Linked DNA regions of Homo sapiens: region 1 is linked to region 2. The links are contacts of gene promoters, found by promoter capture Hi-C in blood cells and fetal thymus (Javierre and others, 2016). All regions are on one chromosome and are shown on one strand. Each heading gives the region's core, a stretch centred on a gene start or on the middle of the fragment in contact. The rest is flanking DNA. Distances are from core to core; before and after follow the strand shown. Region 1 overlaps PPP1R12C (protein phosphatase 1 regulatory subunit 12C). Region 2 holds the start of ZNF580 (zinc finger protein 580).

Region 1 (5,481 bases), core at 1-2,500, 530 kb after region 2:
TTTTCGTGGCTCCCTCTGGAGTCCCGACTTGCTGGGACACCGTGGCTGGGGTAGGTGCGGCTGACGGCTGTTTCCCACCCCCAGGCCTGCATTGATGAGAACCTGGAGGTGGTGCGCTTCTTGGTGGAGCAGGGCGCCACTGTGAACCAGGCAGACAACGAGGGCTGGACGCCACTGCACGTGGCCGCCTCCTGTGGCTACCTAGATATCGCCAGGTGAGGCAAGGGAGGGCCGGGCAGGACCTGGTCGGGGTGGGGGCCTGGACCCTCAGCCCTGACCAGCCCCCACCCCCAGGTACCTCCTGAGCCACGGGGCCAACATCGCCGCCGTCAACAGTGACGGGGACCTGCCCCTGGACCTGGCCGAGTCGGACGCCATGGAGGGGCTGCTGAAGGCGGAGATCGCCCGCCGAGGTGGGCTCTGGTGTGCTGTGTGTGGGGTGGGGGACACCTCCTCACCCGTGGTCTCCAGGCTGAGAGCTTTAGAGGCGGCCTGGGCACCGAGGCTGACCCTGCTTCCTAGGATTGTCTTTCTTTGTGCCTCAGTTTCCTCACCTGTGAAATGGGGGTGTAGGGGCCTGCCTCCAGGATTGCTTGGAGCCCAGCACACGCACAGGATGAGAACTCAAACCCCTACCAACTGGGACTGTCAATCCCCCTGAGTAACTGAGGGGATTGGAATGCCGGGGCGGGGTGGGTGGGTGGAGGGACTCACCCAGGAGTGCGTTAGGTAGGATTGCTGGAACCCTGCCGCAGGTCTTTCTGGGAGGGGATGCGTTTACTTGGGGGGGAGTAGGGGCATGCAGGGGTTGCCAGGGACTGGTCTCCCTGTCCTCTGAGACTCATCGTACCCCAGGAGCCTTCATATGGGGTCCAGGAGCCCCTGAAACTGTGTCTGGCCAGGTTCATTTTTCTAGGGAAGGGGTGTTGCTTCTAGCAGGTGTGTGATGGCCACACAGGATCCCTGGGTCCCCAGCATGTCTTCTAAAGTCCTGGGCTTGCCTCCCAGCTCTGCCTGTGACTGGTGACTCCAGGCACGTCCCTGAAGCTTGCTTCCCTGATTTCCTAAAACAGGACCACTGGTGCCGCTTCATGGGGTGGTTGTCAGGGTCTGGCTGGGTTGGAGTGGAAGGGTGTGAGCATGGTTCCCGGCAGACTCCAGGGGACCGTGTGGAAGGAAAGGGAGACTGACGAGGAAATGAGATACCGGCAGCCTCCGAGACTTCTGACGCGGCTGTCCTGACGGGGCCGCTGGCCAGGCTGAAAGGATAGGATTCCGCGTGGGTTCAGGGGTCCACGAGAGCCATGCGGGAGGACTAGCTAGTGGGACACGTGACGGCGGAGATCTGAGGTTCGGGAGCCCCTCTTTGGTTGAAATGGGGAGTGGGTCAAATCAGCCCTGGACCTGGATTCTGTCTCCTTCCTCCTCCAACTTTTTATTTTGGGAAAGCTTCAGATTTACAGAAAAGTTGAAGCAATAGCATGTGACTACCCATATGACTTTCACTAAGATTCGCCAGTGCTTTTTCTTTTTTGTTTTTGTTTTTTAGACAGCTTTTTGAGATGTAATTCACCTACCCTACAATTCACCCAAAGTGCACACTTCAGTGCTTTTTAGTCTATTCACGGGGTCGGGCATTTATGACCACATTGGTTGTAGAACATTTTCATCATCCCCCAACGAAACCCTGCAACCGCTTAGCCATCACCCCCAACCATGCACCCCCCCCTCCCCCCCACCCCACGAAGCCCTCTCTGCCTTCTGTCTGTGGATTTGCTGTTTTGTACACTTCACATAAAGGGAATCATACAGTATAGAATCATCAGCTTTTAACTTTTTGATAGATTTGTGTTCCTTCTCTCTGTCCCTCCCTTGCGATCTCTTCCCAGGTATAGACATAAACACATTTTTTCCTATCCTTTCTCCTCCTGTTTTTTTCCCTCCATCTCTCCCTTCCTTTCTTACCACCCCACCCCTGCCTTTCCATTCCTGAGCCTTTTTTTTTTTTTTGAAACAGAGTTTCACTTTTTGCCCAGGCTGGAGTGCAATGGCATGATTTCGGCTCACTGCAACCTCCACCTCCTGGGTTCAAGCGATTCTCCTGCCTCAGCTTCTGGGTAGCTGAGATTACAGGCGTGAGCCAGCATGCCCAGCTAATTTTGCATTTTTAATAGAGATGGGGTTTCACCATGTTGACCAGGCTGGTCTCCAACTCCTGACCTCAGGCGATCTGCTGGCCTCGGCCTCGCAAAGTGTTGGGATTACAGGCGTGAGCCCGGCCATTCTGAGACTGTGTTGCAGGCATTGTACATCTTCGCCTGATGCACAGCAGGTATCTCCTGCCACAAGGAAAACCTCCTGCAGAACCACAGTAGGGATGCAACACGCTACCCCCTGTGTTGACCTTGATGCTACACTCTCACCCACCGCACCAACCTTGATGCTACACTCTCACCCACCGCACCAACCTTGATGCTACACTCTCACCCACCGCACCAACCTTGATGCTACACTCTCACCCACCGCACCAACCTTGATGCTACACTCTCACCCACCGCACCAACCTTGATGCTACACTCTCACCCACTGCACCAACCTTGATGCTACACTGTTGCCTGCGTTTCTCCTTGACATTCTTTGTAGCCTCTCCCGCTCTGGTTCAGGGCCCAGCTAGGGATCCAGATCTGGGTGATTTAGGCTCCCTCTGTCTGGATCAGTCCTCCTTTTCCCTTGGACCCCAGGGAGGCCGGGAATGGCCTCCAGGGGGTCTGTGAACTTTCTGACGTTGTATTTTCCTGCAGAAATTGCTCATAACTTGCATCAGCTTCTCAGAGGGGGCCATGCTTCTTCCCTCCCGTGGGGTGAGGAGAAGGCTGGGAGGGATACATTGGTGGGGGATATTGGCTTGTAGGATCAGCCAGGAACGAAGACCACTGGGGCCACTGGAAAGACCCTCAGCCGTGCTGCTCGGGGTGGGACTCTGCGGCCCCAAATCACAAGGCGACTGCCTGTGACACCCTGTGACACCCGGCTCCACACAGGAGCCTCAGAGGGGCTGCAGTGCGCAGGACCTGGATCACAGGCTGCACCCCAGCTCTAAGGAGGGCGGGTCTTTTGCACCCCCTGCAGGACACGCCCACATGATGCAGAATTCCCCGAGGTGCTGGCATCCAGACTGGCTCTGGCCATAGTGTGGCCCTGGCAGCCACTCACAGGCAGGGCTGGGAGAGAAGACAGACCGGCCTCAGGCACGACCATCCCCTTCGCTTTCCCTGGCTTACTTGCTGTTTTCCTCTCTCTGGGTCTGGGGTTCAGTGAGAGCACGTGATCTGCTCAGCCAGTCACCTCGTGGCCTGGAGCCACCGCTCCCTCCAACACCGCAAAGTCCTCTGGCCCAGTCGACTCAGGGGCTGAATCGGGCATGACTCTTTGCAAGAACCAAAACCCGTTCCTCCTGGCTCAGGCCGGAAAAGGCCATTTGAGGCCTGGCACAGTGGCTCAGACCTGTAAGCCCAGCACTTTGGGAGGCCAAGATGGGAGGATCTCTTGAGCCCAGGAGTTTGAGACCAGCCTGGGAAACCTAGTGAGAACCCATCTCTATAAAACAAAACACATTAGCCAGGCGTGGGAATGCACGTACGCTCCCAGCTACTCAGTAGGCTGAGGTGAGAAGATTGCTTGAGCCTGGGAGGTGGAAGATGCAGTGAACCACGGTCACTCCAGCCTGGGGGCAAGACCCTGTCTCAACCAAATAAACCAAAACAAAAAAGGCAATTTATATACCCGTGTTCATAGCATCGTTCACAATAGCCCAGAGGTAGGAGCAACCTAGTGCCCATCATCGAATGAATGGAAAATCAACATGTGGCCCATCCATGCGGTGGGACATGATTCAGTCTTCATCCCAGCACTTAGGGAGGCCGAGGCGGGCGGATCACCTGAGGTCGGGAGTTTGAGGCCAACCTGACCAACATGGAGAAACTCTGTCTCTACTAAAAATACAAAATTAGCCAGGGGTGGTGGCACATCCCTGTAACCTCAGCTGCTCAGGAGGCTGAGGCGGGAGAATCACTCGAACCTGGGAGGTGGAGGTTGTGGTGAGCCAAGATCGTGCCACTGCACTCTAGCCTGAGCAACAAGAGGAAACTGTGTCTCAAAACAAAAAACAAAACAAGACAAAACAAAAAACACACAATGTAGATGTATCTTGAGGACATTATGCTAAGTGAAAAGTGAAAATAAGCCAGTCACAGAAGGACAATTACTGTCTGATTCCACGTCTGTGAGGTACCCAGAATAGTCAAAATAATGGAGACAGACAGTAGAATGGCTGTAGTCAGGGACTGGGAGGAGTGGGGAGAATAGGAAGTAGTTTAGTGGGTACACATTTTTTAAAATGATTTTTATATTTTTTGTGGAGACGGGGTTTCACCACGTTGCCCAAGCTAGTCTGGAACTCTTGAGCTCAAGTGATCCACCCACCTTGGCCTCCTAAAGTGCTGGGATTGCAGGTGTGAGCCATTGTCCCTGACCTAGGGTACACGATTTTAATTTTGCAAGATGAAAAAATTCTGGAGATTGGTTGCACAACAACCAATTGTGACTACTTAATGCCACTGAATTGGGGTTAAAATGGTAAATTTTAGGCTGGGCGCGGTGGCTCAGGCCTGTAATCCAGCACTTTGGGAGGCCGAGGTGGGCAGATCACCTGAGGTCAGGAGTTTGAGACCAGCCTGGCCAACATGGTGAAACCCCGTCTCTGCTGAAAATATAAAAGTTAGCCGGGCATAGCGATGTACACCTATAGTCCCAGCTACTCGGGAGGCTGAGGCAGGAGAATTGCTTGAACCCAGGAGATGGAGGTTGCAGTGAGCCGAGATCTCACCACTGCACTCCAGCCTGGGCAACAGAGCAAGACTCAGCATCTCAAAAAAAAAAAAAAAAGATGGTAAATTTTATACTGTGTGTATTTTACCACATTTTTTTCACTCTGAGATGGAGTTTCTTTATTTTTATTTTTATTTTTTATTTTTTTAATTTATACTTTAAGTTCTATGGTACATGTGTACAACATGCAGGTTTGTTACATATGTATACATGTGCCATGTTGGTGTGCTGCACCCATTAACTCGTCATTTACATTAGGTATATCTCCTAATGCTGTCCCTCCCCCCACCCCACGACAGGCCCCAGTGTGTGATGTTCCCCTTCCTGTGTCCAAGTGTTCTCATTGTTCATTTCCCACCTATGAGTGACAACATGCAGTGTTTGGTTTTCTGTCCTTGCGATAGTTTGCTGAGTGATGGTTTCCAGCTTCATCCATGTCCCTACAAAGGACATGAATTCATCCTTTTTTATGGCTGCATAGTATTCCATGGTGTATATGTGCCACACTTTCTTAATCCAGTCTATCATTGATGGACATTTGGGTTGGTTCCAAGTCTTTGCTATTGTGAAAAACAGCAGCAATGGAGTTTCACT
Region 2 (4,975 bases), core at 23-2,522:
TGCCACTCCTCCTGGGTCCACCTCTCACCACTCAGGTCAGGTCTGAGGACGTAGTCCCCCGACTTTTCTTCCCTTTTCTCCTCTCAACCCACCCCAGCAGACAATCAATCCCTAAATCTGTTTACCTCTTTACATCTTAGACCCCGGGCCTCCTGACCGCCGAGATTTCTCTAATCTGTGGTTTCTTCTTTTTTCCTGTTGCCCAGCCCCAGTTCAGTTTACTTCCCCTCCCTTTGCCGCCCCCTACCCCCCCACCGGCCCCCGTATCGGCCTCCTGGCCCTCCGTCCCCACTACATGCCGCAGGGCCTCCCCATCTTCATATTCCGTGGCCTCCCTCACTTCCTCTCTAGGTACCTCCCCAGAGCCCCACTAACCCAATTCCCCACATTTCACTAGGGCTTTTCCATCCTGTTCCTACACTTAGCACCTCGAAGTCTAGTCACCTCTCCCCACTACGGAACCCATCGTCTTACTACATCTATACACCCCAAAATGGCTCAAATGCCTTCCTTCTGTATACCCCGCCCCCCCAACCTGGCTACCTGCTACATTCTCCCCAAAGGCCCCCTTTTCTCTCGCCCCCCATATATGGCGGTGACATCGTTACTTCTTTCTGTACCCATCAGGGGCCTTCTCCCAAACCCCGTTATGCACACCAGGCTCCGGGACTCCGCTTCCCACAGCACCTCTCCCAAGCCCACTTTCCCCTCCTTTCTGTGTACGTCTGGCATCTCTCTTTCTCCTCGTGTTCACCTCTTCCAGGAGCCCCATCCCTCTCCCTGTTACACACAGCGTGGTCCCCCGCCCGTTCTTTTGCTCTGCTCCCCTTGTTTATGGGAACCCCAGCGCCCGGGCGTTTTCGCCCCCATCCCGCTACACACCGCCTGTCCCCTGGCCCTGGGGCCCCTCCTATTGCCTTCACTTCCCCAAGGAGCCCTGGCGCCTCGACTTCCCCTCCCGTCCCTCCGCCCGATCCTGCCGCTCCCGACCCCCACCCCCATCCCGGGTGGCTCCAGCGCACTCCCCCAGCCTGCCTGGCCCCGGCGTCGTCCCAGGGCCAGGCTCCTCCCTCCATCCCGGCCCCCGTACCCCGTGCGGCGGCCTCTCGGGTCCGGAGGAACGGGCCGAGGTCCCGGGCGGCCCCGGGCTTCCCCTGGCGAGCGCCGGCGGCGGAACCGAGACTTCCGGGCAGCTCCGGGCCGGCGGCGCCGGGGACGCGGGGACTGGGGGCGCGGGGGTGCGAGGGGTTGGCGGAGTCCCTGGGAAAAGGCGCCGGCCGGAAGCGCGCGAGCCCAGTGCGGAGGTTCCGCCGCCTGGAGCCGGCGCTCCCACCCCTCGCCTCTGCGGAGCGCCCTGCGGGGAGGGGACCGGAGGCGTGGGGTCCACTGAAGACGCCCGCCCCCGGCGGCCCCGCTCCCCTCCCACCTCCCGAACGGAACGATTCCGCCGCTTGACAAGAGATCGGCCAATAAACCGAGACTAAGCAAAGTTACGTCTTCGCCCTAAGGCCCACAAGGGTTTGTCCTCTTTCCACTGGGCCGTCGCTGCCTGCTCGGCCGTGGCCACCCACCGAGGTAGAGGGCGGGAGAAGGGATGTTCCTGCCGGCTGAGCAAATGTGGAGACCGAGGTCCAGAGACCAGCCATTGGCTCCGATGTGGCCGGGCCGTGATTCTCCACCCAGCAAATGGGGAGGCCGAGGCCCGGAGAAGGCCAGACGCTGCCAGATAGTTGGGGAAGGTATGTTCTTTCCACGGGGCACATGCGGGAACCGAGGCCCACAGAGGGCCAGACGGCTGCATGCGCAGGTGGGGAGGTGTGATATTTCCAGAAGGCATGTGGCGACACCGAAGCGCAGCGAAGGCCAGGCTTTGCCAGATGCGGAGGTGGGAAAGGCTGGCACTGCCCACGGGGCCCACTGGAAGCCTGATGCGGGCTCGCGGGCTGCGCCAGGTCCTGGGGCACTTGAGGCCCGGGCGCTGGCTGCGCATGCGAAGGACTCCGGCGTCGAAAGCAACGCGCGGTGGCGCTGCAGCCGCACTGGAGAGCTGCACACGCGGCAGCACTCGGGGCAGCTGCAGCTCCTCCTCCAGCCACGTGGCGCCACGGCCTCGCAGGAGGGCGGCAGCAGCAGCATCTGCAGGTGCAGCTGAGAGTGGGGGACAGAAGAGGAGTAACTGTCACAGCGAGCCCCAAGACCCTGGGGTGCCACAGCTACATCCTAGAGCACTGTCCATCAGAACTTTCTGCAATGGTGGAAAGTTCTATGACAGTCACTAGCCACGTGGGACTCTTACACTCTTGAAATGTGGCTGGTGTATCAGAGGACCTGAATTTTAAATTGTATTACATTTCCCATAATCAGCACGGTGGCTCACACCTGTAACCCCAGCACTTTCGGAGGCCAAGGCGGGCGGATCACCTGAGGTCAGGAGTTCGAGACCAGCCTGGCCAACATGGTGAAACTCCTTCTCTACTAAAAGTACAAAAATTAGCCGGCCGTAGTGGTGCTCCCCTACAGTCCCAGCTACTTGGGAGGCTGAGGCAGGAGAATCGCTTGAACCCAGGAGGTGGAGGTTGCAGTGTGCCAAGATCGTGCCACTATACTGCAGCCTGGGCAACAGAGGGAGACTGTCTCAAAAAATACTAATTTCCCATAATCAAAATTTAAGCCACATATGGCTCCTACCTTATGGAACAATTCCAGAGACCACTGTCAACCAGTTGTAAACTGGAGGCCCAAGGGCCCAAAAGGCCTCACAGTTATATTTGGTTTGGGACACAAGGTACTTTTTAAACATTTTACTGGGCAGTATGTATATTTTTTGAGACAGAGTCTCACTCTGTCGCCCACGCTGGAGTGCAGTGGCATGCTTCTGGCTCACTGCAGCCTCACCCTCCCAGGCACAAGTGATCCTTCCACTTCAGTCTCCCAAACAGCTGGGACTACAGGCGTGGGCCACCACACATTTTGAGCCGGACCACTCTTTGTTGTGGGGGCCCATCCTGTGCACTGTAGAGTGTTGAGCAGCATCCTTGGCCTCCACCCACCAGATGGCAGTAGCACCCTCCCCCAACCCCAAGTTGTGACAACCCAAAATGTCTCTACACATTGCCCGTGTCCTCTAGGAGGCAACATGGCTCCTAGCTGAGAACCCCTGGTCTACTTAGACAATTATCCAACCTGAGTGTCTTGCCAAGATCCCTGATATAGTTAAGATGTCTGTCCCCTCCAAATCTTTTTTTTTTCTTTTTTTTTTTTTTTTTTGGAGATGGAGTCTTGCTCTGTTGCCCAGGCTAAAGTGCAGTGGCGCAATTCTAGGCTCACTGCAACCTCCAACTCCCGGGCTCAGGTGATTCTCCTGTTTCCACCTCCCAAATAGCTGAGATTACAGGTATGCACTACCACGCCCAGCTGTATTATATAAAATATAACAATTTTATATTTTTGGTAGAGACAGGTTTCACCATATTAGCCACCTGGTCTCCAACTCCTGACCTCAGGTGATCCACCTGCCTCAGCCTCCCAAAGTGCTGGGATTACAGGGTTGAGCCACCACACCTGGCCTCCTCCAAATCTCATGTTGAAATGTAATCCCCAGTGTTGGAGACGGGGCTTGGTGGGAGGCATTTGGATCATGGGGGTGGATCCTTCATGAATGGCTTGGTGCCATCCTCGAGGTAATGAGTGAGATCTCGCTGAGTTCACATGAGATCTAGTTGTTTAAAAGAGCATGTCAGGCTGAGCGTGGTGGCTCACGCCTGTAATCCCAACACTTTGGGAGGGCGAGGCGGGCAGATTACGAGGTCAAGATCAAGACCATCCTGGCCAACACGGTGTAACCTGGTCTCTACTAAAAACACAAAAATTAGCTGGGCGTGGTGGCAGGCGCCTGTAGTCCCAGCTACTTGGGAGGCTGAGGCAGGAGAATCACTTGAACCCGGGATGCAGAGGTTGCAGTGAACCGAGATTGTGCCACTGCACTCCAGCCTGGCAACAGAGCAAGACTCCATCTAAACAAACAAACAAACAAACAAACAAAAAAGCGTGTCACCTCCTGCCAGTCTTTTCCCCCCACCATGAGATATGCCAACTACCCCTTTACCTTTCACCATGATTGTAAGCTTCCTGAAGCCCTCGCCAGAAGCAGCTGCCAGGACCACACGTCCTGTATAGCCTGCAGAACCGTAAACCAATTAAGCTTCTTTTGTTTATAAATTACCCAGCCTCAGGTATTCACTCATAGAGACACAATGAAACTAACACAATCCCTCTCTTGAGTTTCAGACCATATAACTAGTGGCACTGTAGTGGCCACAACCCCCACCCCCACTGCTATCCCCAGAAATAATGACAACAATAAGCAACATTTATTGAGCCCTCACTCGGGAACAGCCATTGCTAAACGCACAGCATCCTCAGGGCAGAGCTACAAGGAAAGCACCATGAGGATCCCTGTTTTACAGATGAGGGAAGCAGAGCTCAAAGAGATCGTGTGATTGGCCTGAGGTCACACATCCGCAGGCGGGATGGCCAGGATAGCACCTGCCTCTGCCCACACCAGGTCAGTGCACATGACCCCTGTCAGCAAGCCACACACTTCCCTGTAATCCCACCATCGCCGCTGCCACCCCAGCGCAAACCACCACCACTTACGCCCAGCTTATAGCAGCAGCAGCCTCCGCCTCCATCACTCTCTCCCTCCCCTCTCGTTTTTTTTGTTGCTGTGTCTTTTTTCAGACAGAGTCTCACTCTGTCGCCCAGGCTTGAGTACAGTGGCACGATCTCAGCTCACTGCAGCCTCCACCTCCCAGGTTCAAGCGATTCTCCCGCCTCAGCCTCCTGAGTAGCTGGGATTACAGGCGCGCACCACCATGGCCGGCTAATTTTTTGTAATTTTAGAAGAGACAGGGTTTCACCCTGTTGCCCAGACTGGTCTCGAACTCCTGGCCTCAAGCGATCCGCCTGCCTCAGC

The links. The method cuts DNA at HindIII sites, captures the fragments that hold promoters and counts their contacts. A CHiCAGO score of 5 or more calls a contact.
Region 1: a contact is called between a fragment that was not itself captured here and the fragment with the promoter of ZNF580 in region 2, in 3 of 17 cell types (total CD8 T cells, total CD4 T cells and activated CD4 T cells). The highest score is 9.0, in total CD8 T cells.

The regions. Positions count from the first base shown.
Region 1 is chr19:55,107,399-55,112,879 of GRCh38, reverse strand. PPP1R12C (protein phosphatase 1 regulatory subunit 12C) reads left to right here. Exons shown (of 22, transcript NM_017607.4): 2 at 85-215; 3 at 295-413. Among named protein-coding and RNA genes, the nearest start is that of PPP1R12C, 7.5 kb to the left of the region's middle. The HindIII fragment of the contact is 402 bases long and covers 1,050-1,451 here.
Region 2 is chr19:55,637,299-55,642,273 of GRCh38, reverse strand. It overlaps ZNF580 (zinc finger protein 580), which reads right to left and starts at 1,272. Exons shown (of 2, transcript NM_207115.2): 1 at 1,091-1,272. It overlaps LOC107983998 (a long non-coding RNA gene), which reads right to left. Exons shown (of 2, transcript NR_171683.1): 2 at 1,475-2,148. It also overlaps a transcript of ZNF581 not described here. RefSeq lists a silencer at 903-1,422. The HindIII fragment of the contact is 9,119 bases long and covers 1-4,126 here.